7 separate regions of the Homo sapiens genome follow, and all the other regions are linked to region 3. Evidence: promoter capture Hi-C in 16 types of primary human blood cells and fetal thymus (Javierre and others, 2016). All regions are on one chromosome and are shown on one strand. Each heading gives the region's core, a stretch centred on a gene start or on the middle of the fragment in contact. The rest is flanking DNA. Distances are from core to core; before and after follow the strand shown. Region 1 has its middle 64 kb from the start of MTDH. Region 2 holds the start of CCNE2 (cyclin E2). Region 3 holds the start of PTDSS1 (phosphatidylserine synthase 1). Region 4 has its middle 89 kb from the start of MTDH. Region 5 holds the start of TP53INP1 (tumor protein p53 inducible nuclear protein 1). Region 6 has its middle 38 kb from the start of MTDH. Region 7 has its middle 3.4 kb from the start of NDUFAF6.

Region 1 (3,583 bases), core at 76-2,575, 1.3 Mb after region 3:
CCTCAGTGCTAGATTTGCTCATTGCTCTTGATGTGTACTACACTCAGGCCCTCAAAAGGAGCAAAGCTAGGGAGCATACATATGCACACGCATACACACACACACGTACACACACACACACACACATATCTATATTGATTCCCATATCTACCCATCTGTGTATACTGAAAACTATGAACTCACGGTAATATCTCCAATTCCAAACTCTAACAGTAGAGAGCTCATCAGTTTTCTCCCTTTCCATATTTTCACTTCCTTCTGTGACAGTGAGAAACTTTGCTCCTACTCTCCTCCATATCTTGACATATTGGAGCACTACTATATGTAATATCCCACCTTGTAGGCCCTGACACCCCCCTGCCAGGTTGCCCTCCCCTAGGCAGGCCCCTCTCACCCTATTCGGACTCCCACACCCAGCACCAGGCTGCTGATTCCCCTCATCTAAAGCCCTCCTCACCCCACCTGGCCTCTGATGCCACATGCTGGGCTACCATAGGAATGTGCATCCCACCTTGCTTGGTATCTGACACCCGTGCCAGGCCCCCATCAGCCCCTCGTGTGCATGCCTTTCTCACTCTGCATGGCTCCAACACCCCGCCCTGGTCTTCCTCCCTGCATGCCTCCGCACCTGAACTTGTTCAGACACTGATACCCTACCTTTTGTCACTGACCTGCCCAACCCCATCTAATAATGGCTTTTGAAATGGATTGTTCTGGAAGGAAACAGAAGGGAAAACAGATAAGAAAAAAGAATAGGACAACATTCTTCTTTAAATGCTAACTATGATTTCAAAGCTGTTTTTGAAAAATATTCTGTAAAAAGTGGTATGTCCCTTTTAAGTAAAGCTGTTTATAAAAGTTGTGTATTATTTAGGGACAACTCAAACAAACGAAATGCTATCATTTAAATTTAGGAACATGGAAGCAATATATAAGAAACTCAAGATGCAATAGTGGCTGAGAACAGAAATGTTTCCCTTTTTAGGTTATGTAGAAATTGGATTCTTTTTGTTCAGGAGAAAGGAGGTTTTGTTGTCATCAGAGTGAATGTGGGGTTGATCATCTGCAGTCTCTCTTTCTGCTTTGAAGAGAATACAGGGGAATCAGGGAAGGTGGCAGCCTCCCAAGACAGTAAGGAGGCTAGGAGGATACACTTAGGTTTACCTTTTATTAGCTTGGCTAATGCCACATGCAAATGAGGCATCCAGGCAGCTGGGAGAAGTGGAGGTGCCCAAAACTGGCCTGAAGTCCCAAAGTGTGTTCCTTCTTCAGGAGAGTCCTGACTCCAAGATAAGACTTTGAAGTGAATTATAAAGATTAGGACTGGTAGGCTGCGTGTGGTGGCTCATGCCTGTAATCCCAGAGCTTTGGGAAGTCAACACAGACAGACCACCTGAGCTCAAGAGTTCAACACCGGTCTGGGCAACATAGCAATACTCCGTCTCTACAAAAAATACAAAAATTAGCCAGGCACGGTGGTATGCACCTGTAGTCCCAGCTACTCAGGAGGCTGAGATGGGAGGATGGCTTGAACCCTGGAGGCAGAGGTTGCAGTGAGCCGAGATTGTACCATTGCACTCCAGCCTGGGTGACAGAGCGAGACCCTGTATCAAAAAATAAATAAATAAATAAAGAGTAGGACTAGCTATTTTATCAGGGTTACTTTACATCAGAACTGATAAAATATTAAAGACTGAATCCAACTATTAGGAAAGTTACCAAATTATACTATGGTGTTTCTTTTTTTTATGCTAGATATACGTTTAAATTTCTGCTTTCAGCCATGATAGACTAGATTACACCCAACCAACTCTTCTACCAGGAACAACTAGAAAAGTTGGATAAAATACAAAAGTCATTTGTTTAAAAGCATCAGAAAACTACAAAAATAGCCAGGAATTAAGAGCTCAAGATCCTGACTTTGAGTTCCCCCTGAAGCAGATCCCCAGGGAAGGATTTGAACATAAGGAGGTGATGTCAGGAAGCATTATTAGGGAAGTGAGGAAGAGAAACAAGAAAGATAAGACAGCCAAAAAAAGCTGGTTCTTAAACAAACTGCCACTGTGAGTAACTGGAGCTTGAGTCCACTGGGGAAATCAAGGAGACCTTTTTCCTCAGAGTTATCCCACCCAAAGGGCAAGGGGATCTGCGGCATTTATGATCCAATTGCATTTTATTGGGTCTTCTTGACCATGATAGCAAAACTAGATAATGATACTGCAAAAAAGAAAAATTGTAGGCCATTCTCTCTTATGAACATAGATGCAAAAATCTGAAACAAAATATGAGCCAATCAAATATGGCTATATGCTATATATCCCATCGAGACTGGGCTTATTCCAAGAACACAAGACTGGCCAGGCAAGGTGGCTGACGCCTGTAATCCCAATAATTTGGGAGGCTGAGGTGGGTGGATCACTTGAGCCCAGGACTTCAAGACTAGCCTGGGCAAAATAGCGATACTCTGTCTCTACAAATAATACAAAAATCAGCCAGGCATGGTGGTACGTGCCTGTAGTCCCAGCTACTCAGGACACTAAGGTGGGAGGATGGTTTGAGCCTGGGAGGCAGAGGCTGCAGTGAGCCGAGATCGCACCACTGCACTCCAGCCTGGGCAACAAAGCGATACCCTGTCTCAAAAACTAAAATAAAATAAAATTTAATTTAAAAATATATTTTTAAAAAAACAAAAGTGGAGCAAAAGGCTAATTTATACTTAAAAATCAATCAATGTGATTTTACCATATGAATAAAATAAAGGAGAAAATTATATGATCATCTACATAAGATGGTATTTAATATTCAGTGTGGATATTTATTAAATATTTCTCTCTTCTTCTGAGACAGGGTCTCACTCTGTCACCCAGGCTGGGGTACAGTGGTGTGATCTCGGCTCACTGCAGCCAGGACCCTTCAGGCTCAAGAGATCCTCCCATTTCAGCCTCCTGAATAGCTGGGACTACAGGCACATGCCACCACACCTAGTTATTTTTATTTTTTAAAAGAACAATATGTGTTCATTTCCACTCAGCTAATTGCATGGCTTATTTTAAATATAATAGGTAAAATGACCAGGGTACAAAAGTAGCACACATTAATTATAAAATCAAGTTTTAAGGGGCTTGGGTGGCCAGGTGTGGTGGCTCACACACACCTGTAAGCTCAGGAGTTCAAGACCAGCCTGGGCAACATGGCAAAACCTCATCTCTACAAAAAATACAAAAATTAGCCAGGCATCGTGGTGGGTACCTGTAATCCCAGATACTCAGTAGCCTGAGGTAGGAGGATCACTTGAGCCCAGGGAAGTCAAGGCTGCAGTGAGCCGAGATCGTGCCACTGCACTCCAGCCTGGATGACAGAGTGAGACCCTGTCTCAAAATAAATAAATAAATAAAAGGTTTGGGGGGACCTCTTGAACAGACAGATCTACATTGAGAATAATGACAATGACTATGAAAGAAAATGTGTATCTCTTATGAACCAGTGAGTTAAAACCAATTCTCAAGAGGTGACATATTAGAAAAGACTGAGAGAGGGCAAGACTCAGGCCAAATATATAGGTAATTTATAGTATAGCTATGAA
Region 2 (4,015 bases), core at 714-3,213, 1.4 Mb before region 3:
AATGCATCTGCAGTCTAAAATACTAATCACTTTCAAGATCACAGAATCGTTCTCTGTATCTAGCAATAGTAGCAGGGACCTTTTTTTTTTTTTTTCAAATAAGCTCTTTTTAAAAAAAGTGTGCTCTGATACTTTTGAATATTTGAAAGCAAAACCTTAAAAATGGAATCGATTACTTAAACGATTCTTTTCCCAATAATGCTGGTTTCAAACGCAATCACTATCTCCAAAGTGCTGCTTTCTGTAAAACACATAGGAAGAAGAGGTACCAAAGGGCTGCGTGCCAGGCTGTCAGTGATCTCACATCCTATTTATGCCCAAGAAGCAGCTATTAGGACCGTCTACTAGAGTCTGCGAGGGAACAAAGAGCAGTATATTGGACAGATTAGGCGGGCCCTGGTGCACCAGGCAGTTCCAAGAGGGAGGGATTTACAAAAAGGAACCAGCTGCTTGAAGGCACTTATTCTGCAGCTGTAGTAGGATTCGGGCACATAGAAACCACCCAAAGATAGGCGCCTTCCTGCTGACCTCTAGGGGCATTAAAAGTAAAAGTGTCAGAGGAATCTATCGCAAAGCAATAAACACATAATTCTATTCTTATTCATCTATCCTCCATTTTTCCCCCAAACCCACCCAGCCCAGTTCTGCATTACCCTAATTTCATACTGATGTTTCTTGGTGACCTCCTCTCTTCTTTTTTTGACATCCTGGAAAATAGAAAAGACCATTGGTAAACTAAAGTCCCAGCATGGAATTTCGTTCCTCCCTCTTTCTCCTTAAATCACCTGGGTAGTTTTCCTCTTCTTGGCCTGGATTATCTGGGCTTCTTGGGGGGATTCCGTCTGGCTGGGCTGGGGCTGCTGCTTAGCTTGTAAACGGCTACTGTAGTGAATTTTTAAAAAGGAAGTGTAATTAGTAAGTTAAAGGCAGCAACTAATTTGAAACATGTCTCTAAGACAGATAATGTTACCTTCGTCTTGACATTCTCTTCTTTCAGGTGTATAAAACCTCTGAAGGGGGGAGAGGAAAAGCCGCAGTCAAGTACATTGTCATTCACATTCTCCAAGTGCCAGTAAGACGCTGATTCGCAGGTGAAAGCTCAGTCCCTCCGAAGGGGGCCTGGGCCCTGTGACCCTGCCATCTTCTGTGCTATGTTAGCTAGCTCATGGTAATTCATTTTGGATACAAGCCTGCATTTCCTCAACTGAATGTACAGCTGGAACGCGAGTGTCCAAAAATTTACCAAGCACTCCTGACACCTTGAACGCGCAGGGAGGCACATCTTCCTCAAACGGGTTTTTCTGGGTCCTCCACCCTCTCCCCCGTACACCGGGAGTGGGGCTTGGGCAGCGCCCCCACGTCCCGCCTCCCTCCTGGACCAGCGGGGAGAGGGGGTTGTGGAGGCGAAATGCTGTGGAGAAGCCGGTTCCGCGCCAATTTGGAGAGCGGCGGTGGCGGGGAAGCAGGGGGCGGAGGAACCAAGACTGGTGTCACGGCCTCCAGTCTCCTTTCCCTCCTTCCCGGCCCTGCCGCCCTACCGCCGCTCGGAGGGGCGCCGGGACCCCAACTCCAGATGGGAAGCGGAGGGCGTGGGGGAGGGCAGGAAAAGGAGCTAAAGAAAGGGGAGACTGGGCTGGCTGGGAACTTTTCTCCCCATGGAGGGGACCCGGCCTCCCATCCTCTCTCCCACGGGATAGCTCCCCAAATGAGGGTGGGATAGAGAAGCCCCTAGAATGAGGGGCGGCTCTCCATGCCCAGCCGCTTCCCGGTCCCCTGCCAAGGTTCCTGACAGGGACGGAACGCGGGAACCCATGACCCCCAGTCGTCTAGTTCTCAGCCCTCCCGATTTTCCTCCCTGAGGCTCCCGCCTGTGGTAAGTGATCGGCCCAACTGGGCTTTCTTTCCTCCCACATCCCCCCTACGCGCAGCAACTCCTCACCGCCAGACCAGCTACCGCTCGGCTCAGCTGGCGCCGGCGCCAACCCAATATATAGGCCGGGCCGGTCCCGCCCCGCACGCATGCGCCTCAGACTGACACCTCCGGACAGCGCGCTCCCCTCTCCCGCCCGTCCGCCCGCGTGCCCGCGCGCCGCGCCCTGCTCTCAGTGCGCGCCCGCCACCCGGAGCGGCCGTGGGGTCCACTCTACCGGGCCTTCTGCCCGCGTCCACCGCGCTCCACGGCGCGGCCGGCGGCGGTAGGGAAACTCTCAGGGGCTCCTTCTCCGCGGCTGTTCTCCCCGCCGCCTGGCTCGCGCATCTCCCGCCAGTTTGCTTTTGCTTCCTCCCACTGCAACTCCTGGATTTCGGGGGTGTCAGCCTGCGGCTCAGCCCGGGCGCATAACAGGGGGACACGACTCGGGCGACCATAGGGTGGCTGGGAAGTGACCGTCCAGGGGCGCGCCCTAGCTGTCCCGCCAAGGCCTCAGGGAACCCAGGTCTTTCCTGAGCGACGCGGGGACCCGAGGGCCCGCCCCTCGGGGAGGAGCAAAGCGTTGGCTGAAGAGCTGGCCAATGGGAGGCACGGGCGGCAGCACAACGTGGAGTGGCTGCAGAATGTAAACACCACTCAGCCACGCGCCTGGCCAAGTGCGGCTCTGCTCTCCCCAGTCCCGGTCCGCGACCACCCGGAGCCCGCTCCGCCGGCCTTGCGCGGCGCGCCCAGGGAAGGCATTTCCAGCCCGCCCACCCAGGTATGTATCAACCCTGCTTTCCGGCTCCCTGCTCCCCCTACCGGGTTTCCCTCCCCATGGGTCGGTCGCTCCCCCAACCCGCCGCTCTGCCCCTGCAGTGGCCTCCAGCTGCCACCCCGCAGTCCCCGCGCAGGAAACGCTCGCGCCACGCCGCGCCCTCCCTTGCTTCCTCTCTTCTCCACCTCCAATTCCGGGATCCCAGAGGGTAAAACCCCTCTCCGGAGCGGGGCCCGGGAACGGCATTCCTCCTCCCCCTGAGCGCGGTGGTCCCCGGGGACCTGGCCGGGTGGGAAGAAAGATCGCCACCACGTGCAGGCCCCGGGCCCGCCTGCCGCGCCCCGCCCCGCCGCCGCCGCCAGCGCGCCCTGCGGAGCCCGCGCGAGCCGGCAGCGCGGGAGGGCGCCGTTCGCGCCCGAGCGCTGTTGGGAGGAGGGGGGCCCGACGCTCTTCCTTTATCCTTCCCCGGGTGTTTAAACTTAGGGGTCCCTTCGCTGCCTCTATGAATGCCCCCACAACTGGCGCACCCCAAAACTGCACATCGTCAAGTCAGACTTGCGGCGGGTATTCCGCAAACAGGTTTTGCGGCGGGAGCAGCGAGGCGGGGAACAGCTCCGGGAACAAAGATCCCCCGGGTGGAGGAGCAGTGCGAAGGCGTCTCGGAACCCGCGGTAGCTCGGGCGGGCCGCGTCTGCCCAGGCCCTGAGCGAGCCGGACGGCGAGCGGGCCGCGCCGGGGAGACGGAGCCTCGCGGGCGGGAGCCCTTCCCGAGATGCACCGGGAGGCGGCGCCCGGCGACCCCCGCTCCCGCCCGGCCTTTTGTGCTGCGCCGCTCGAGCGCGCTTGAGGCCCGGGAAATAGCCGCCGCCGGATGGGCGCTTTGGGGCGGGCGAAGTCCTTTTTCACACTTTTTCGATTCTTCGTCTCGTGACGCCGGCAAAATAATTCTCTCCCTAATTTACCTGTAGGAGCTTTGCCCAAGGTGACAGCATCAGGAGAAGCCCATGCCTTGTCAGTCCCAAGAAACTTTCTGCCATTTCTAACGCTTAGGATGGCTCTCGGCGGGGCAGAAGTTGCCTCCCTTTTGCAGTCACTCAAAACGCAGTTAGCGGTATAGCTAGCTTAAAGGTCTAACAGCATGATGTCAAGAAAAGGGGTCAGGGGTCTCCCAACAAGGGTCACCTGATCGTAAGCAGAACTGGTGGCCCTCGTGGTTGAATTTGATAAAATATACTGAAAACCAGTATGTCGAGTAACGTTTGTGGGAATCATCTTTGAATGATGAATGTATGCTCAGTACTGAGTTAACTAGTAAATTGATTTTAAAA
Region 3 (3,961 bases), core at 428-2,927:
AAGTAAGTATTCACAATACCCTGCTGGGATAGGTGGTTTCTGTTAGATTTTGGTGGGAAATGGGACTCCAAATGTGCCAAGTTTTCCCTCAAACCTACAACATTCATTCTCTGCACGGTAGTCATAAGGGCACTAAATTGAAAGTCAGAAGACCTCGGTTGTGCTACCTTGACAAGGCTGTTTCTGGCAGCAGTCTAACAAAAGCAGCAGTCTAGCCCATGATGTGGGGGGTGGGGGTGGGGTCAATAACTATTCTTCAAATAATGCTTTTTTAAAAGGCTAGGGGTACAATAAGATGATTCTTAAGGCCCCTATCAGCTCTAACATTTTTTGACGTCTAAGCACTTCATCCTACTTCAAACTCCTGAAATCCCAAATTCATCCTGAAGCCTTTCCACACTCAATACCACTTAAACATCAGGAAGACTCACTTTCAAATTTCACCCCGTCATTAAAAGATCTTTGTGCATACAACTAATGTTTATCCTTGCATTTTTATTTACAAGTGCACTATCTTCTCCACATCCTTTCATTGCTGCCTACACATCTTAACAATTGATTAACTGTTCATGCACGAGAGCAGAGCTGGGTCTCATCCCTGGATCCATCCTTCCGGGGACTATTCTCCACTTTCCCAGAGCCTTGTACTGCTCTAATGTTTGCGGAATGGAAATAAATCAATGGCAAGTACAGTTAACTCACTTGCTTACACAGTATGCAAAAGCGGGTAGGGGATGTGCAGATGTGTATAAAAGCCCTGTAAGGTGGTAACCTGAAGTCTTCTAACAAGGTCCTTTCATCAGGAAAATTACAGAAAACCCTTAAAGAAACTGAAGTCTCTTAACAATTCATATATACTGTTCTCAATGAGTGCCTAGTGCTTCGCTAGAAAAAGGCACTGAAATAGAGTTCAAGATTTCTACCTACGAAATGCTATAAATGAAATCAGGAGAGAAAGGGAGGTTATGGGGGCAGCTTCCTAATAAAGGGTCTCTCAATACTTCCCAGGCCATTTTAGCCCACTTCAGTTCCCCAAACTTGCGCAGGAAGGCAGAGCCCCCTCCTGAGGCTTCTCACACTGCGCTAATTAGCCAGCATGGTTGAGTTTTCACTACATCAGCCAGGGAAAAACACAAAACAAAACCAATCACCCTCTACTGGGCCGCGAAAACCTAAAGGCCCTTGAGGCCCTGGGGCGCGGTCTGGACGCGGGTGCGCCGGAACCTGAACCCTCGCCAGGAGCGCGATCCTCGTGCTGGGGCAGCTCCTGCTTTACCTGTGGCGAGGCCTGCTTCCCGTAGCGGGTGACCCCGGGACCGACCAACTCGCTGGGCCGCACGTCCCGTCCCGCCGCGCCGCACGCCGGCTCCTCAGCCCGCCCTACACAGCGCAGCCGCGCTCCCGGGCCCACGTGGGCCGCGCCCGGAGTGGGCGAGACCATGTGCCGGGTTACGCGGGGAGACAGCGGGCTACGTGCTCTGAAAAGAGCCAGCCAGGGGCCCCGGCTACCCTTCTCCGGCTCGCTATTCCTCTGAAGTCCTGTGGACTTGGAGTCTGAAAATTCCTCGAGTGGTAGAGATGCCTCAGCTAGGATGACAGCGTGGGGACGGCCGGCGGCGTCCCCTGCCCCAGGCCGCGGTGGCGGCGCCGCGACCCCGCCCTCTCGCGCCTGTCCTTCCCTCTGCTCCCAGCCTTTGCTGGGCGCCAGACCCGGCTTTGCCGTCCGGCTATTAGCCTACTGTGGCTAGTCACCCCCGGGGTCCCGGCCTTCTCGGGCTGGGGCCGCCGCCACCGCGGCAGGACGGGGAGGCGGGCCATGGCGTCCTGCGTGGGGAGCCGGACCCTAAGCAAGGATGATGTGAACTACAAAATGCATTTCCGGATGATCAACGAGCAGCAAGTGGAGGACATCACCATTGACTTCTTCTACCGGCCGCATACCATCACCCTGCTCAGCTTCACCATCGTCAGCCTCATGTACTTCGCCTTTACCAGGTGGGGCGGCCCAGCCGAGCGGGGGGCGCGTCCAAGGGCTAGGGAAGAGGCGGGAGGGAGGGTGGCGGGGAGGGGGGCCCGGCATGGCTCTGGGTGAGGAAGTGGGCTGGCTGCTCCACGCACACGCACTGGCAGCCCGCCGCCCACGCGGCCCCTCCGCCCGCCCGGTGTCTCACAGTACGCTAGCCTGCTCCCCTACCCCTCAGTGCCCCTTCTCCATACAGCGCCTCCGGTTACACGGGGAACGCACGCGAGTCACCTAGCACGATCGCCCCCTCACCCACCGCACTCAGCATCGCTCCACACAACATCACGACGCGGGCCCCTCCTCTGCACTGCTCCAGCCTTCGTCCCTACCCAGCACACCGCATGAATCATGTCGTATGCACCACTTTCAGCACACACCGCTACACATACAAAGCACCCCAATCCACAGCGCCTGCAGGCACCATACACAGGCCCAGGACACAACCTAGATCCCTTCCTGTGGAACTCCGGTATTCGGCACTATCCGTAACGCACAAAAAATGCACATGTGTGCTGCATACACGGTCTTTCCTGTGCAGCACTTCCCGTATGCATTGCACACAAGTCATCCAGCATAACACTTCCCCCAGCCTCAAACACTACCATCTGTACCACGGCACAAACTGCCACTCTAAACACACACCTCACAGCGGACCTTTCCTTTCCAGCACAGCCCAATACCCATCATCTGTGTACATGGCTGCACAGACACCAGCCCGCCACACATCACGCGGTGCATACCCTGCTCACTCATTACCTAACATACGTGCTGAAATGTGATCTTGTCCAGCAATTTTAATGGTGCCTGGGGTATAGTAACTGCTGTGTGTTAAATGAAACACATAAACCTCACACAGCATAACACAACTCTCTTATTCCCTGGAAAACATACACACACATTCTAATATATACCGGTTCATAGGAGCTGCCCAGCCCAAATCTTGAACACACCTCATGTTAACTCTGGCACTGCGCCTGTGGCTCCTCATTCCTAACCTAGAGAACTAATTCATCCTTGGTTCATAAGGAGGTACACACCGTGGTTCCTACTTAGAATGATTTATACTTTCTGAATGAACCTCTTTAAAGAAAGGGAAGTCACACCTCTCTCACCATTATGGCTTAAAAGGCCAACTTAGAGTAGAGTAGTTTTTGAGCCACACTTTTGGTTTCAAAACTGGCTGTGTGTCCTTAATTAAGTTGCATAACCTTGCTCTGAGCCTCAGGGGCCACACTCGTAAAATGGGGATGAAATATCTACTTATATAGGGTTATGAAAATTAAATGAATGTGTGTGAATGCATTTAGCAGAGTCCCTGGAGCACAATGTACAATTCATGTCAGTTACTTCTCTCCCAGTATTTTTATCCAACAATCAAGGTTCTCTGTCAGGGTCAGCAGAACATGTGTAGGGATATATATATTGGGTAGTCACAAGGATTGAGAGAACTTCTAGTATTTGGGAGGGGGAGCAGTTAACGGATACTAAATGTATTGTGACATATGTGACAGCGCTGTACAACATAAAGGGAATTGTCTTCTACACAGTCGTTTGCATACACACACACAAGTGCCGGTGGTGCCTCCCTTAGGAATAACTGCAGTTTTTCAAATCCTCATAAAACTAATATCCTCCCACATCACACTTGTTCCTTACCTCTGGGATTCATTTGACTCTTGGTTCTTGTTATGTAAGTGTTTATCCATTTGAAAGAATCTACCTAAAGGTATAAAGCTTAAGTAACAATTGCTTACTCTTTAATGATTGAGGGATCTTGCCACTATTACTATAAAATCTGCTAAAGCTGTGCAGCAGGTGAAGACCAGACCTTTCCACAGTACCTGACCAGACATATTTCTAGCTTTGGAGAGAAATGAATCATGTCCCTAACTATGGTTACTTTCAAATACTTCATTATGTTGCCTGATTTTATCACTT
Region 4 (3,864 bases), core at 1,357-3,856, 1.3 Mb after region 3:
AGTGGTTAAGAAAAATTGTGCTTTTATTTATTTTTCAATTTTTTTCTAATGAGCTTGCATTATTTTTAATTAGAAAAATTTTTTAATTTTTCAAGAAAGATTTTTCAAATCACCTCAAAATTGTTGCCTCAAGAAAAGGACAAATCAAATCCTTCCAGACACAGAATGTTTACTGAGTGAGACAACTATCATCATGTCCATTATGACACAGAGGAAGGAACGGCCATGAGAGCTACTTGATCAATCAGCTGGTTCCTGCAGATACAGGCATTTTAGCCTCTACTTGAAGGCAGAGTAGAGCTTGGATTTTTCCTTTAAGTAAGCAATGTCTGCCCTCTGCTGGGCATTTAAAAGTTACCAAACACAACACTTTGCCTTTCCCATGCGGCAAGACAGAGTGATCAAGAGACAAGAAAGGTAAAATCACCATTCTGATCTTAAAGGCATTCGTTTTATTACTTTGACCAGGTTTCCCATTTCTATAAGCATACTCCCACATCAGAGAGGAAAGCCCTTTGTTCACTTTCCCTCAGAGGTCAGTAGCACAGCCCATCCTTGGCTGGGACTCCAAACCACCATCTGAGTCAGAGGCACATGGTTTCAGTTGGCAGAGGGCAGGTATGCTTTGGTTTGTAGGGGATGGGGGCAGGGGTTGGGCCCAGTACCCCAGTGCTTGGGGTTGGCTGGAGGATCTGCCTAAAGCAACATGGACAGTCACGATGCAGAAAGGAATCAGCTGTTTCTCCTAACTCAACACCTTTGAGTGGGGTTTTTTCTGAATTAGGCTACATTCTCAACCTCAACACTATTGACTTTGAGGACAGGCTCATTCTTGGTTATTACATAGAGGACAGTGCAGGCTGTCCTGTGCATTAGAGGATGTTTGGCAGCATCCGTGGCCTCTACCCACTACATGCCATGGCACCCTGCCCTCAGTTGTGACAACCGAAAATATCTCGAGACATTGTCAACTTCCCCTCCTTCCCACCTGGAGGGAGGATGGGGAAAGCTGGGTAGGGGGAATGGCCCCCTGCTGAGAATCACTTCTTGAGCCCCAGCTTCTCTTCCTTTTAACCCCTGACATATATACAAACCATCACTCTCATTGTGTGCAAACAAGCAGCAATGACAAGGACAAACAACTAGAAGTTAAAGACCCTGGCCGGGCACAGTGGCTCACGCCTGTAATCCCAGCACTTTAGGAGGTCGAGGTGGGCAGATCACCTGAGGTCAGGAGCTCGAGACCAGCCTGGTCAACATGGTGAAACCCAGTCTCTACTAATAATACAAAAATTAGCCGGGCATGGTGGCACATGCCTGTAATCCCAGCTACTAGGGAGGCTGAGGCAAGAGAATCGCTTGAACCCAGGAGGCAGAGGTTGCAGTGAGCCAAGATGGCGCCATTGCACTCCAGCCTGGGCGACAAGAGTGAAACTCCGTCTCTAAAAAAAAAAAAAGAAGTTAAAGACCCTGTTTCCCTGTGCCACATCCTGGAGCCTCCTGGCCTTGGTTTCATCAACTGCAAATATAAATATATATCATTACTTTTATTTTGAAAGACTGTTGTGTGTTTAGTTAACAAACACTTACTAAGCCCCTACTATGTGTAAGGCAGTGTACTGATGACTCCATGAGGAACAGTTTCAAGTCTGAAAATGAGATTACTACACAGAGCATGATGCACTATACAGACGTGCTTCTATAGGAAAATTAATAATGAATCATTGGGAGATAGTACTTTAAGAAAGACAACATTGACCAGGTGCAGTGGCTCACACCTGTAATCCCAGCACTTTGGGAGGCTGAGGTGAAAGGACCACTTGAGCCCAGGAGGTCAAGGTTGAAGTGAGCTATGAGTGCCACTGCACTCCAGCCTGGGTGACGGAACAAGACTCTGTCTTCAAAAAAAAAAAAGAAGAAAGAAAGACTGAATACAGGCCCAGAACCTCTTACTCACATTTCTGAAATCCAAAAAATTCTGAGAACCTATTTTTCTTTTAATGTATTTGGCATCAAAATTTATTTGGTGGCAAAGCCTGACCTGAGGTGAATGACACCACCAACAGTCGTCATTGGTCCTGCTGAGTGTGACTATTCATGTTTTTCTACACAAATATTAATGTGTTTGGTGAAAAGGTGCTTGCTCAGGCTGTGCTGGGGGTGTTACATAATATATAACATGTGCACTGTTTTGCCTTTCTGAAACCCAAAATAATCTGAATTCCAAAACGTATATGGCCCTGAGGGTTTTGGATAAGGTATTGTGGACCAGAATATGTAAATTCTCAGGGAATTGAGCAAAACTGGAGCTAACACCTTCACACTATAAGCATTCATTATTCCTCATTTGCATCTTGTACCGTGCCCAGCAAACTGTGAGCTTACGAGATAAATAGGGAAAGATGGGAGTGTGAGTTTGCATGTAGGGCATGTGGATTTTGTCCCTTCAATAGCACAGGTAGCCTCTGTCCAAAGAAACCAGTCACTGTTTACATCCATCTCCCAGAAAGGAAAGAAGAGAAACTTAATCAGAGATGTGGCCCAGTCCCTCTCTGTAGCCCCAGGTACTGGAAGCAGCCCTCCTGCTGGAAATGACACTTCTCTCCAGTTCCAGCGAGCAGGAACCCACTTCAACTCACCCGGTTTGCACGTTCTGTTCTCCAACTTTCTTCATGCCCATTCAGCCCAGCAGGCTCAGACGGAGAGGAACGGCTCCTGCATCCTTGGGTCTAGTCTCCGCCAAGTTGGCGGTGGAGGCAGAGGAAGGCGTGGTGCTCTTACCCTGTTGTTTAATGTGCAGAAGATTTTATGGGAGCCATGGATTAATCGGCTCAAAAAATACGAAGAGATATTTATGGTAAGTTCAAGTTTCACAACCACTCAAGAGGTTTTTCACTTCAAAGGATTTTAGTTCAAACCAGAGCTCGATGTCTCATTACCACAAACTTCGATCTTTTGGCCTTCAAAGGTCTTGTCTCCTTGACTCAATTCTTCACTTCAATTTATTTGTTTGAAAATATATACTGAACCTGTATCACGTGCCAAGTGCTGTGCTGGGTGATGGAAATATACACACAAATAAGACATGGCCCCTGCCTGGGAAAAGTCATGGTCCAATAAGGGAGACACTGTTGGACAACAGGCTGTCTCCAATCACTTTATGAGCAAAAGCTACTTTTCTTTTACCTAAGTTTGTGGCTGAAAGCAGAGGTCAGGGCAGGACGTGATGGCTCACGCCTGTAATCCCAGCATTTTGGAAGGCTGAGGCAGGTGGATTACTTGAGTCCAGGAGTTGAAGACTGGCCTGGCCAACATGGTGAAACCCCCTCTCTACTAAAAATTCAAAACAAATTAGCCAGGTGTGGTGGCTCGTGCCTGTAATCCCAGCTACATGAGGCTGAGGCAGGAGAATCGCTTGAACCCGAGAGGTGGAGGTTGCAGTGAATGGAGATCATGCCACTGAGAGGTGACAACATGCTAGCAGCCCTCGCTCGCTCTGGGCGCCTCCTTGGCCTCGGCGTCCACTCTGGCCGCGCTTGAGGAGCCCTTCAGCCCGCCGCTGCACTGTAGGAGCCCCTCTCTGGGCAGGCTGAGGCCGGAGCCAGCTCCCTCTGCTTGCAGGCCGGTGTAGAGGGAGAGGAGTGGGCGGGAACCGGAGCTGCGCAGGGCGCTAGCGGGCCAGCGCGAGTTCCGGGTGGGCGCGGGATCCGCAGGCCCCACACTCACAGCGGCCCGCCAGCGCTGCTGGCCGCGGGCAGTAAGGGGCTTAGCACCCGGGCCAGCAGCTGCAGAGGGTGCGCCAGGTCCCCCAGTACTGCCCGCCCGCCCGCGCCGCGCTTGAATTCTCGCCGGGCCTCAGCCGCC
Region 5 (4,106 bases), core at 1,425-3,924, 1.3 Mb before region 3:
AAAAAAAAAAAAAAAAAGACAGGCCCTGGAGTTTGAAATCTTGGCTCTGCTACTTGCAACCTATGTGAATTCAGGATATTTACTAACATCTTGGTGTCTCTGTTTTCTCATCCTTAACATGGGAATGATAGTTATAATACCTACTTCACAGTGCCAGTGTAAGGATTAAGTGTATACTACTTAGAATAGCAGACCTCGGTTCATTCAAAGCCAGTTGTGAGACTGTCAACAAGTCATTTAGCATCGCTGCATTTGAGTTTCTTTATCCATAAAATGTCTACTTAATAATTAGAGCTACAATTTACAGAATGCTTATTGTATGTAACGGGGCCTTGAAGTACTTATTTGTCCCATTTTACTGATGAGGAAACCGAGGCTGAGGAATTAACTAACTTGTTCAAAAGTGACAGAGTTGGTTGGGGTGGAGTCAGCATTAGGGCAAAAATCCATCTGATTCCAATTCCTTGTTTTCCCTATACATGCTCTTTTAGGCTCCCAGTCTCAACTATGGGTCTACGAACTTCAGAAAACAGCCCTTTTCAGTTAGTTTCAGCTGCCAGTAGGCGGCTCCAAAAAATATTAAAAAAAAAAAAAAAACCCGCAAGTTTGATGATCTAACTTCTAAATCTGTGTACAGTTGTGGCTCCTTCACAGTTTCAGGAAATCAGGTGGCTAAACGTACCGTCATTGAAAAGCAGCTTCAGAATTATCCTTCTTTTTATCCCACCCTCTTCCACTACTTTAAAAACGTGCAGATTCTAGTAATTTAAAATGGGTTTTGAACTGGAGAAAAACCAAGCCAAGAAAGTTATCTCTGCTTGTTCCACTTATATGAAGACTAGATTCAAGTAATTTAAAATGGATTTTGAACTGCAGAAAAAACCAAGCCAAAAAAGTTGTCTTTGCTTGTTCCACTTATGTGAAGACTGTTCAACTAGTGTGCAAGGGAGGTTATTCCCCCAGGGATCCACCCCTGTCTGCCCCTAAGGCTGAAAGACAGTGGACAAAGACAAGAGTAAGTGGTAATTCATAGCCTGATAATCTTGAATTTTGAAAGCAGACATCAGAGGAAGCAATGGCAGGAAAGAACAAAAGATAGGATGAGAAAACAAGACCTTGGTCACAGAAATTAGTAAGGTCCTGGTTCCAGGCAGGGGCCTTTTAAAATTATGCTGCCAGTTCAGAATTACACTGATTGCGACTTAAAAGCTTCCCAGTGCTTTTCACATCTGCAAATGAAAATGTATTTCAATTACCAGGCTGGTGATTTCAGTATCGTGGGGGAACTCATTATGACTTCTGTTCAGTGACCCCAAGGGTCACATTGTTCCCCCTTTTCCCAAAACTATTGTGCATTGAGAAAAGGCTTTTTTAGCAATAGATGCCCAAGTCCTTGGGAGTCACAGTTGTAAAGAGGCTCTTCCTTAATCCACTCTGTATTGGAATTAACCTACTGAGCAGATATAATCAGAAAATACAAGCAAAACAGACTCTCCAGGTAAAATTCAGCTGCCACTTTGAAATACAAACACCATTTCCTTTTATTAATTGGCTGTGTGGCCTTGAGCAACTTAATCTCTCTGTGCCTCGGGTTTCCTATGTGTAAGATAGCCGGGCCTATTTCATATAAGGTTATTATGAGAATCAACTGGGGCGATAAAGCAAAGCCCCCAGCATAGTATATGGCACATACTCAGCGCTCAGTAAGCGTGAGCGATCCAAAGGATCTAAATGTTAAGGGCCAAGGAGAGCGCTCTTTCCACAGGTGCAAAGTCAGGTAGCGAAGACTGAGTTCAAGCCAGGTCAAGCAAGGGACAGGCCGCGGACAGGCGGGGGCCGGTGGCCGGGTCACGGAGCAGGTTCCCCATAGCCGCAGGGCCTCCGGAACTCGGAGGGCAGGCGCAGGGGACGGGATCGCAGGGCGGGGACAGAGCGCCGGGCCACAAGCCCAAGCGCCGCTGTCTTCGGAGATGCGTCCCGGGGGTGGCCGCGGGAGCCCCGACGCCGAGTCCCGAAGGGGCGGCCCCATCCAACGGCCGAGAGCAGGCGGAGGAGGAGGAGTGGAGGGGAGTGAGGAGGGGTGAGAGGAGGAGGTCCCGCCGCGGCCAAGAAAACAAGCCACGCTCGGGGGAGGAGGCAGAGACCAAACTCCCAACCGCCGCCCAGCGCCGGGGCCAGGCCGGGCCCTTGTCCGCGCCGCCGCCGCCTCTGTCAGCCTCTGTCCGCGCCCTGGGCCCCGGGGGCCGCCGAGGACCGACCCACTGGGTGGGCGGCCGGGCCCGGCGGCGGCGAGGGGAGGCAGCGAGGGGGCTCGGTGAACGCGCAACCGGCGCCCCGAAGGCAGGGCGCGCGGCCGGCCCCGCCGGGCTCAGGAGCGGGCAGCGCTGCGGCCCCAACCGGCAGCGAGGCGGCCCTGGACGGACGCCCGCCCGCCCCCCCCCGGCACTTACGTGGGCCCGGGCCGTGCGGGGCTGCGCGGGGAAGGGAGCGGCCGCCGGCTCGGCGGGGAAGGACGCGGGCGGGGCGGGACTGCTGAGGTAGCTGCGGTGGGGCCGGGCTGCGCTGCACCTCGTTCAGGTACCCAGACGGCAGGCGCGGGGCCGGCTCCAGCCCTCGGGTCGCTGCGCCCAGGCCGGCCAGTCCAAGTCCTTTTGTTGTTGTGCAGCGCTCGCAACAGCTGATCGGCCGCTCCGCTCGCCGTCGGGCCCCGCTGCCCCGCCCCGGGCCGCGCCAGGCCGGGCCCCACCAATCGGCGGTGCGGGGGCCCCGGGGCCGCCCTGCGAGAGGTTGTCACCAACGCACGTGACCTGGCGCCCGGCCGGCGGCGCGCTCAGCTCCGAAACAAGCCCGGGCAACAAAAACCGGGAGCTGAGCGTGAAGGCCTGGGCGAGCGGAAGGGTGGGAGAGAGGGGCTAGGCCGGGGAGGGAAGCGCTGGGGCCGGGGCCGGCTTTCCAGGAGCCGGCGGGAGCGGGGTGCGTAAGAGGCGGGCGAGGAAGAACCGGCGGGCAACGGGAAGGGCAGAGGTGGATCTCTCCCTCAGCGACCCCTCTCGCCGAGTGAAGGGTCGAGGGTTTGGGGCACAAAGGGCGCAGAACGTTTTTTCCTGTGAGAGGAACATTAAGACTCCTGGGAGGGCTGGGGCTAACGCCTCCGAGAGCCCCACCTGGTCAGCCTAGGGTTAGACGTGTAGCCAGGGTGCTGGGAGGGGGCCGCTGCTGGGCCCCAGATAGAGGGGTAGAGGCCGCTCAATCACGGAGCCAGGCCCCACCTGCTGTAGAAACCGCCACCGAGAGCCGGCCGGGCTTGCTGCACGCTCTGGATTCCGCCTGCCTATAGGCGAGGCACAAGGGACTGCGAGACCAGGCCTGAAGGCAGAGAGGTCAGCAGGCTCGGGGGCCTCTGCTCCAGCGGACAACAAGCGCACCGGGCGGGAACGGCCGCCTCCCCAGGCGCTGCAGCCTAGCTCTCATGTGACCCACGGAACTTAGCCCCTCTGTTCTGTTTGCATACCTGCAAATTGTGGGCATTCACGCCGGGACTGCCAACTCACCAGGTTATTTATAGTGACAAGAGAGTGAGACAGTGGGCTTGAAAGTGTTTTCCAGACCAAGGCTCTGTCCCACATATAGGTGGATTAACTGTCTGGCAAAGGCAGGTGAGTAACGTTGATGCCTATCAGCTCTCATGTGGATACTGTTTGGACTGGGATGTAGTTCTTTGACCTGGGGTGAGCTGTATAGCAACCCTGGAGGGATGCCTATCACACATTACAGTATCTGAAAGACACTCACATTCTGACCCTCACAATGTAGTCAGTCCATTTCCAACAATGCTGGTTTTAAAGGATGTAAATTGCAGTGCAGGGAGTTGTCAGACACCAAGGAGTAATGATCAAAATATGATGGTCATTGGACCTTATCTTGGGAGAAAGAGCTAAAACTGTGTTCTAGATAGTCTCACAGACTTGAACATGCTTTGGATTTTAGGTTTTTGCAAATCAGGCTTGTTCTAATATTTTCTCCCACATGCTATGGTAGGAGCCCCATGATCTCTTGTTTCTCCCTAGGAATCCATTGAAGAGGCCATCTCCACATTCAGAACCAAG
Region 6 (4,047 bases), core at 718-3,217, 1.3 Mb after region 3:
GCTGATAAAGAGAAAGAATCAAGCATTTATCCTGCCTTCCTATACAAACTATTCCACTGTGTAAACAAATTGTATTCAGCTAGAAAATGAAGAATGAGTGACAGAATTAGAATGTCACCATTCTGCAATCCCTAATGAATTAATGGACCTAGGCATTAACCGTCAATGGCTGCTAGTATCACAGAGAGACAATCACACCTATGGATGGAAGGACTATATAACCTATGAAGTGGTCTCGCTGAAAACTCAAACTTGAAGCTGACAAAGCTTCAAGATCTAACTACCAGGTCACAAGAACCTTAGGAGACAAAGGAACATGCTACACACTATGGGGGTGCAATTAGCAAAATCCACATGACAATGTCATGACATGACAATCTTCGACAATTAAATTGCAAGGGGAAAAAACAAAGAAAGGGTGAGAACAATTATGGATTAAGCCAGACTTAGGAGACACATCAACAATCACAATGTGTGGACATTAATTGCATCCTGAGTCAAACAAGTAAATCAGTTTTTTAAATTATGATCTTTGAGACAATTAGAAACTTGAACAGTGGCTTTAAAAAAAATTTTACCTCTCCCTCTCCCGCTCCCGCTCCCGCTCCCGCTCCCGCTCCCTCTCCCTCTCCCTCTCCAGGGTCTCCCTCTGATGCCGAGCCGAGGCTGGACTGTACTGCCGCCATCTCGGCTCACTGCAGCCTCCCTGCCTGATTCTCCTGCCTCAGCCTGCCCAGTGCCTGGGATTGCAGGCGCGCGCCGCCATGCCTGACTGGTTTTTGTATTTTTTGGTGGAGACAGGGTTTCGCCGTGTTGGCCGGGCTGGTCTCCAGCTCCTGACTGCGAGTGATCTGCCCGCCTCGGCCTCCCGAGGTGCCGGGATTGCAGACGGAGTGTCGCTCACTCAGTGCTCAATGTTGCCCAGGCTGGAGTGCAGTGGCGTGATCTCGGCTCGCTACAACCTCCACCTCCCAGCCGCCTGCCTTGGCTTCCCAAAGTGCCGAAATTGCAGCCTCTGCCCGGCCACCACCCCGTCTGGGAAGTGAGGAGCATCTCTGCCTGGCCGCCCATCGTCTGGGATGTGAGGAGCCCCTCTGCCTGGCCGCCCAGTCTGGGAAGTGAGGAGCGCTTCTTCCCGGCCACCATCCCGTCTAGGAAGTGAGGAGCATCTCTGCCTGGCAGCCCATCGTCTGGGATGTGAGGAGCCCCTCTGCCCGGCCGCCCAGTCTGGGAAGTGAGGAGCGCCTCTTCCCGGCCGCCATCCCGTCTAGGAAGTGAGGAGCGTCTCTGCCCGACCGCCCATCGTCTGAGATGTGAGAAGCGCCTCTGCCCGGCCGCGACCCCCTCTGGGAACTGAGGAGTGTCTCTGCCCGACCGCCACCCCGTCTGGGAGGTGAGGAGCGTCTCTGCCCAGCAGCCGCCCCGTCTGGGAAGTGAGGAGCGTCTCCACCCGGCAGCCACCCGGTCCAGAAGGTAGGGGGCAGCCCCCGCCCGGCCAGCTGCCCCGTCCGGGAGGGAGGTGGGAGGCAGCCCCCTCCCCACCAGCCGCCCCGTCTGGGAGGTGGGGGGCGCCTCTGCCCGGCCGCCCCATCTGGGAAGTGAGGAGCCTCTCTGCCCGGCCGCCACCCCGTCTGGGAGGTGTACCCAACAGCTCATTGAGAACGGGCCATGATGACGATGGCGGTTTTGTCGAATAGAAAAGAGGGAAATGTGGGGAAAAGAAAGAGAGATCAGATTGTTACTGTGTCTGTGTAGAAAGAAGTAGACATGGGAGACTCCATTTTGTTCTGTACTAAGAAAAACTCTTCTGCCTTGGAAAAAAAAAAAAGATTTTAATTTTTTTTCTTGAGACAGGGTCTGTCTCTGTCGCCCAGGCCAAAGTGCAATGGCGAGACCTCGGCTTACTGCAACCTCCACATCCCAGACTCAAGTGATCCTCCCAACTCAGCCTCCCGAGTAGCTGGGAACAGAGGTGCGCATCACCACTCCCGGCTAATTTTTTTTGTATTTTTGTTAGAGACAGGGTTTCATCATGTTGCCCAGGCTGGTGTCAAACTCCTGAGCTCAAGCAATCTGTCCACAGTGGCCTCCCAAAGTGCTGGGATTACAGGTGTGAGCCACGGTGGTGGCCTTTAGGAATTTTTATTAATGTTAATATGTGATAATGGCATTATGGTTATTTTACAACATGAGGCTTTTTTATCTCTCAAAAACATATACTAGGGCTGGGCGCAGTGGCTCACGCTTGTAATCCCAGCACTTTGGGAGGCCGAGGCGGGTGGATTGCTTGTGGTCAGGAGTTCGAGACCAGCCTGACCAACATAGTGAAACCCTGTCTCTACTAAAAGTACAAAAATTAGCCAGGCATGGTGGCAGGCACCTGTAATCTCAGCTACTCAGGAGGCTGAGGCAGGAGGCAGAGGTTGCAGTGAGCCAAGAGCGGCGCCATTGCACTCCAGCCTGGGTGACAGAGTGAGACTCCATCTCAAAAAAATAAATTTTATATATATATATATATATATATACTGAAATATTTATGAGTAAAATTATATGAAATCTGAAATTTGCTTCAAATGGGTAAAGAGTGAGAAATAAGATGAAATAAGATGGTTCATGAACTAATAATCATTGAAGCTGGAAGACCAGTACATGGCAGTTTATTGTACTTTTCTCTTTACTTTTATATACATTAGAAACTTCCCTTAATTTTTAAAAATCTATATTGCAGATTAAAAAACAGCTACAATTTATTGAACAATTAACATAAATCATCATTTTTTTATCTTCACAACACAGTAGTACCTACTGTGAGGTAGGTACTATTACCATAATCTCCATTTTAGAGGTAAGGAAACTGAGGCTTGGAGAGGTTAATTAATGTATCAAAGATCATGTAGCAAAAGACTCAAATCCACATACTAAGTAACCATTGTCTCATAAGTGGGTTTTCTGGAGACTGCATAATGATGCCAAGCCATGTGTCTAGGTTTGCATGAAATGAGAACAGAAGGTGTCCTTGGGGACAGCTGGCATCTGGGTTTCAGCCATTCAAAAACTTTGGCTGGGCATGGTGGCTCACGCCTGTAATCCCAGCACTTTGGGAGGCCGAGGCGGGCAGATCACCTGAGGTCAGGAGTTCGTGACCAGCCTGACCAACATGGTGAAACCCTATTTTTACTAAAAATACAAAAAATATTAGCCGGGCATGGTGGTGCATGCCTTAATCCCAGCTACTCGGGAGGCTGACACAGGAGAATTGCTTGAGGCCGGGAGGTAGAGGTTGCAGTGAGCCAAGATCGCGCCACTGCACTCCAGCCTGGGCAGTGGACAGAGCGAAACTCTGTCTCAAAACAATAAAAATTAAAAAAAACTCTCCAAAATACATAACAAAAATAATTGGGAAAACAATAGCATGTCCAAGCCATGCCAAGGAAAATGTATCACTACTTCTATTCATAGTAAAAAGCCTATTTCAACACTTTACCAAAAAAAGTATTACTGAGCCTTTCAAGGAATGAAAAAGCAGGCAATATACTTGGAGACAGGCAAAAAGACATATGGTCCTCAAGGGAATATGAGTTTGAATGGAAAAATTTGAACAATGGAGAACAGCTTGCCTCTTACTTCCCCTGATGTATGAAGTTTGGTCCATTTCCAATAGCAATCAGAAGCTTCTGGCAGTGGCCCAGCTGGCCTGCCTGTAAGACCATCTGGGAGAAAGGGAAGTGTCCACCACACACTGGTCAGGCTGACACCAGCACTGAACTGTTTGTTCATTTCTGCAGTACCTGCGGAGCTACTATATAAGGCTGGAGTAGTGACATCAACTTCAAATCATCCACGACTCCAAATAAATTAACTTGTCTGATCAAGATATTAAAGGGGACTTTTGGCCAGCCACCGTGGCTCACACCTGTAATCCCAGCATTTTGGAAGGCCGAGGCAGGAGGATTGCTTAAGCCCATGAATTGGAGACCAGCCTGGGCAACATAGCAAGACCTTGTCTCAATTATTAAAAAAAAAAAAAAAAAACTAAAAGGGTCATGC
Region 7 (3,798 bases), core at 1,159-3,658, 1.2 Mb before region 3:
CTGAGAGAACAGTGTGTAGGTGTCCTTTTAGCAAATGAAAAATATGCCACCTAATAGGTATTTGACATTGGCTAATTTTGTTAGTTTCTAGTGCCCCTTCCATACTACGTGTATAACCAGTACTAAATGCTCAAAAACTATTGAATTGATAGATGACTTTCTTTCAAATCTAAAATTGTACAATTCTATATTTTTTAAAAAAATGGTAATTGAGGGCCAGGCATGAAGGCTCATGCCTGTAATCCCAGCACTTTGGGAGGCCGAGGCAGGCAGATCGCCTGAGGTCAGGAGTTTGAGACCAGTCTGGCCAACATGGTGAAACCCTGTCTCTACTAAAAATACAAAAATTAGCTGGGTGTGGTGGTGGGTGCCTGTAATCCCAGCTACTTGGGAGGCTGAGGCAGGATAATTGCTTGAACCCGGGAGGTGGAAGTTGCAGTGAGCGGAGATCGCACCATTGCACTCCAGCCTGGGCGACAAGAGTGAAACTTTGTCTCAAAAAAACAAAGGTAATTGAGGATAAGTAAACTACCCAAAAAGCATGATGCATTCAAGTTCCTCTTTTTCATAGCTGCTGATAATAGGTTCCTTAAAATCAGATAACTGTAAGGCTTGACTATTAAACGAATAGTGGAAACCCTTCACAAGGGGAAATATTCCTTTCAACTTTGTATTTTCTTCATATTCTGCCCTTCTTAAACTTGCTGAGTCTGATTTGCTCTTTCAGTCACTAAGACTGCAAGCCTGTATGGTGCCTTGTTATAAATGAGAAGGTCCCCATCTGGGCTGAGGCAGCCCTGCAGGCACATGCCTCTCTGTGTGAAGAGAAAGGCTACCCTTCCTCTGAGCAGAGACAATGCCACACCAGCCCACACCAGCCCCTCTTGCTCCCTTAGCCAGGCATGTTTGTGCAGTGCACACACTGCATAACCTGGTGTCTTATTTCCGGTGCCAAAAAACTTGGCCTTCAGAACGATACACTAACACCTCCCAATGCCAGGCACTTGGCCAGGCACTGGAGATAAAAAGAGGAGTAAGAAAACATCTACCTTTGGCAGTCTGGGAAGAGGGCCATATAAGCAGATCACCACAGTAAGACCTGGCAAAGTGATCAAACATGAACACAAATTGTTATAGGATCAAAACTGGGGGAACAACTCTTTTTTTCTTGGATGGGGTTATGGTCAAGGAAAATTCAGGAAGGAAGAGGTGTTTAATTAGGTGTTTGGGGGATGAGTAGAGGTTCATGAAAGGGAAAAAGGGCATTAGAACTTTTGTGGTGACAAGGACAAACTTAGAGCTCTCCTCCTATAACCCCAAATCTCAGGAAAGCCTTGGGTTGCGGCTTACTTTGATTTAGGTCTTGAATCACACCATTTTTGTTGGGTTTGTCTTTCTACATGTCTTTTTGCCTTTGAAGTGATCCAGACAAGCTTAGCAGTGGGGTTTGTAAAAACAGTGTAATAAACATTGCCCATTTGCCAGGACTGTCCTCTGTGTAGCTCTCTTGGGAGTCTGTAGAGGCCGTAGGTGGCTGGTTAAAGGCTGGGGATTTGGGATTATCACCAAATGGCCTCCTTGAAGATACAGCACACAAGGACAATCCAGAAAGAGGGAACAGCATAATCCCACAATATTTTGTTTGCCAAATGGAAATCTCTTTAGTGACAAACATTTAACTTAGCACCAGGTGTGACCTTCAGTTATGCAATAGAATTGTGGATCAGCTAGGATGAAATTTCTTATTTCCCTAGAAGAATGTTTTGTCCAGAAACACTATCCCAAGGCAACAGACTATATTTCCAACTCTGTGAGCCTTTTCCCTTCTTGGCACGTGCTACTGGTTGCTAGACGAATCAGGAGGCAGTATGTGCATAGAACAGCTCCTCACAAGTCACTGTCATTCTAAGAAAAAAACTCAGTATGTGTCCTTTTGGCAGGAAGTCAGAAACATGTTCTCTGGACCATTAAGGGACAGCATCTTTTGTTATAAATGTGTTATATTTGTTCTTTGACCTTTATCTATATCCTTTATAATAAACCAGTAAATATATATAAGTGTTTCCCTGATATCTGGGAGCCATCATAGCAAATTATCAAACCTGAGGAGGAAGGTCCTGAAAATCCTTGATTTGTAGCCAAGTCAAACAAAAGCATGGGTAACCTAAGGACTCACTAATTGCTACTGGTGTCCAAAGTAGGGGGCAGCCTTGTGAGACTGAACTCTGAACCTGTGGATTCTGTCCTAACTGTGTAGTCCTGAAAATGCTTGGTGTGGAAGATCTATACATGTAGTGTCAGAAGGGTTGCATAAGTATAGAAAAATTGTTTTTCCTTTTTAGTAGTGGTTCATCTAAAAAGTATTTAATTGTGGAAAATATAAGGATTGAATAAGGGCATAGTTAATGTGTTATATCTGTTGATAAGATGAACTATAATGCTGTAATTAAAAATGTTTATGAAGGTTCAATATAATAAAAATACCAGTTTTCCATACATTAGGTATAAATTTAACATAGCTGTAATGAAAATACCTTCAGAATTATTTTAATCGAATGGCTGATCCTAAAAGCCAAATGGGAAAATAAACAAGAATGGCCAGGAAGACCGGGGAAGAGAAAAAGAGTAATGAAGAAGGACTAGCCCTACTAGATATCTATGAAAACATATTTTAAAGACGCAATAGTTAAAAGAGTTTACTACTAGAACATTAATAGACAAATGGAACACTATAGACACAAAGTATATGCATGAGTTTATTCTGTGAAAAAGGAAGCATCTCAAATCAAAGGAGGAAAAGGTGGACTACTGAATAAATGATAGTAAGACAACTACTAGATATAAAGAAAAAAGTTAGATTCATACCTTCCTAATCTTTACCCCTCCAAAAAAAAAAAAAAGAAATGTAAAAAAGTGAAATCTACAAGTAGTACGAGAGAAACCAGAAGGACTAGAAGAAAGCAAGGGATTCTTTTAACACATTTAAAATGGGGAAGGCCTTTTTAAAGACTGCAAAATCCAGAAGCCATAAAAGTAAATATTGTAAATTTGACTAGATAAAAATATATTGCAAAATTTCTGCATGGCAAAGATTCCACAAGCAAAGACAAAACTAAAACCTAACTGAGGAAAATAATAATGATCTATATTACAGACAAAGGACTAATCCCCCTCACGTGTCATGGCAGCTAGCTTCCCACAGAGTAAGTGATGAGAGAGAGAGAGAGAGCACCCAAGATGAAATATGGAAGGTGCAGACCTTTTATAACCTAATCGCAGGAGTGACATTGGGTTTTTCTTTCGAATTTTTCTGATTTGTTTCCCTGTGGTGTCGATTTATCTTGTTTCTTGTCTTTTTCTTATAAACTTTAAAATTAGATTTAGAAGCTTAATTAACTTTATGTTAAGCCTTTTTGCCAAGAATATTTCATATGTAGTATATTGAATTTTATGTTTCCTTTTATTAGTGAAGCAACTTTCCCAGAAGCACCACAGTGGACTTGTTCTCAAGTCTAATTGGCCAGATCAGGGAAATATGCACTGTCCTGGACCAGTCACTGGTGATGAAAGGGTAACACCCACCACCGGGGTTCTGCTACTACACAGGATGAAGAAAGGTAATTTCAGAGAGTAAAAACCAAAGTTGCATGAATTGGTTAGAGTTCTTAGGGCCAGAGGACAAGGTGCTTTACCTTGGGTTTAAACAAAAACATTAACTTGGAGTCACAAAGGCAAGTGGCCAGAGTTGAGGCAGAAAGGTAAATTGAGGCCACATCATGGACGGACTGCATATAACAC

Evidence for each region. Contacts are between HindIII fragments. The CHiCAGO score rates a contact against its expected background, and 5 or more counts as called.
Region 1: a contact is called between a fragment that was not itself captured here and the fragment with the promoter of PTDSS1 in region 3, in 4 of 17 cell types (M0 macrophages, naive B cells, M2 macrophages and 1 more). The highest score is 9.6, in M0 macrophages.
Region 2: the fragment with the promoter of CCNE2 here is called in contact with the fragment with the promoter of PTDSS1 in region 3 in 12 of 17 cell types (total CD8 T cells, activated CD4 T cells, naive CD8 T cells and 9 more); the score reaches 12.6 in total CD8 T cells.
Region 4: a fragment that was not itself captured here is called in contact with the fragment with the promoter of PTDSS1 in region 3 in 10 of 17 cell types (M0 macrophages, total CD4 T cells, M2 macrophages and 7 more); the score reaches 11.4 in M0 macrophages.
Region 5: a contact is called between the fragment with the promoter of TP53INP1 here and the fragment with the promoter of PTDSS1 in region 3, in 2 of 17 cell types (total CD8 T cells and monocytes). The highest score is 6.7, in total CD8 T cells.
Region 6: a contact is called between a fragment that was not itself captured here and the fragment with the promoter of PTDSS1 in region 3, in 2 of 17 cell types (megakaryocytes and M0 macrophages). The highest score is 7.7, in megakaryocytes.
Region 7: a contact is called between a fragment that was not itself captured here and the fragment with the promoter of PTDSS1 in region 3, in 1 of 17 cell types (activated CD4 T cells). The highest score is 6.5, in activated CD4 T cells.

What each region holds. Positions count from the first base shown.
Region 1 is chr8:97,578,668-97,582,250 of GRCh38, forward strand. No RefSeq gene overlaps it. Among named protein-coding and RNA genes, the nearest start is that of MTDH, 64 kb to the right of the region's middle. The HindIII fragment of the contact is 4,555 bases long and covers 1-3,583 here.
Region 2 is chr8:94,893,238-94,897,252 of GRCh38, forward strand. CCNE2 (cyclin E2) reads right to left here and starts at 1,964. Exons shown (of 12, transcript NM_057749.3): 1 at 1,940-1,964; 2 at 971-1,010; 3 at 786-882; 4 at 654-707. The coding sequence starts at 984. It also overlaps a transcript of NDUFAF6 not described here. RefSeq lists an enhancer at 776-1,337 and silencers at 1,954-2,173, 2,554-2,653, 2,784-2,833, 3,004-3,053, 3,334-3,553. The HindIII fragment of the contact is 5,265 bases long and covers 1-4,015 here.
Region 3 is chr8:96,260,225-96,264,185 of GRCh38, forward strand. PTDSS1 (phosphatidylserine synthase 1) reads left to right here and starts at 1,678. Exons shown (of 13, transcript NM_014754.3): 1 at 1,678-1,995. The coding sequence starts at 1,817. MTERF3 (mitochondrial transcription termination factor 3) reads right to left here and starts at 1,386. Exons shown (of 8, transcript NM_015942.5): 1 at 1,277-1,386. RefSeq lists enhancers at 139-832, 984-1,043, 1,526-2,218, 2,364-2,603 and silencers at 1,207-1,531, 1,284-1,433, 1,614-1,983, 2,034-2,213. The HindIII fragment of the contact is 8,922 bases long and covers 1-3,755 here.
Region 4 is chr8:97,553,282-97,557,145 of GRCh38, forward strand. No RefSeq gene overlaps it. Among named protein-coding and RNA genes, the nearest start is that of MTDH, 89 kb to the right of the region's middle. The HindIII fragment of the contact is 6,759 bases long and covers 1-3,864 here.
Region 5 is chr8:94,946,704-94,950,809 of GRCh38, forward strand. TP53INP1 (tumor protein p53 inducible nuclear protein 1) reads right to left here and starts at 2,675. Exons shown (of 4, transcript NM_033285.4): 1 at 2,451-2,675. It also overlaps a transcript of NDUFAF6 not described here. RefSeq lists enhancers at 2,016-2,644, 2,645-3,274, 3,141-3,310, 3,481-3,530 and silencers at 2,091-2,230, 2,451-2,830, 2,911-3,020. The HindIII fragment of the contact is 4,012 bases long and covers 1,208-4,106 here.
Region 6 is chr8:97,603,746-97,607,792 of GRCh38, forward strand. No RefSeq gene overlaps it. Among named protein-coding and RNA genes, the nearest start is that of MTDH, 38 kb to the right of the region's middle. The HindIII fragment of the contact is 3,404 bases long and covers 266-3,669 here.
Region 7 is chr8:95,019,703-95,023,500 of GRCh38, forward strand. It overlaps a transcript of NDUFAF6 not described here. Among named protein-coding and RNA genes, the nearest start is that of NDUFAF6, 3.4 kb to the right of the region's middle. The HindIII fragment of the contact is 1,954 bases long and covers 1,432-3,385 here.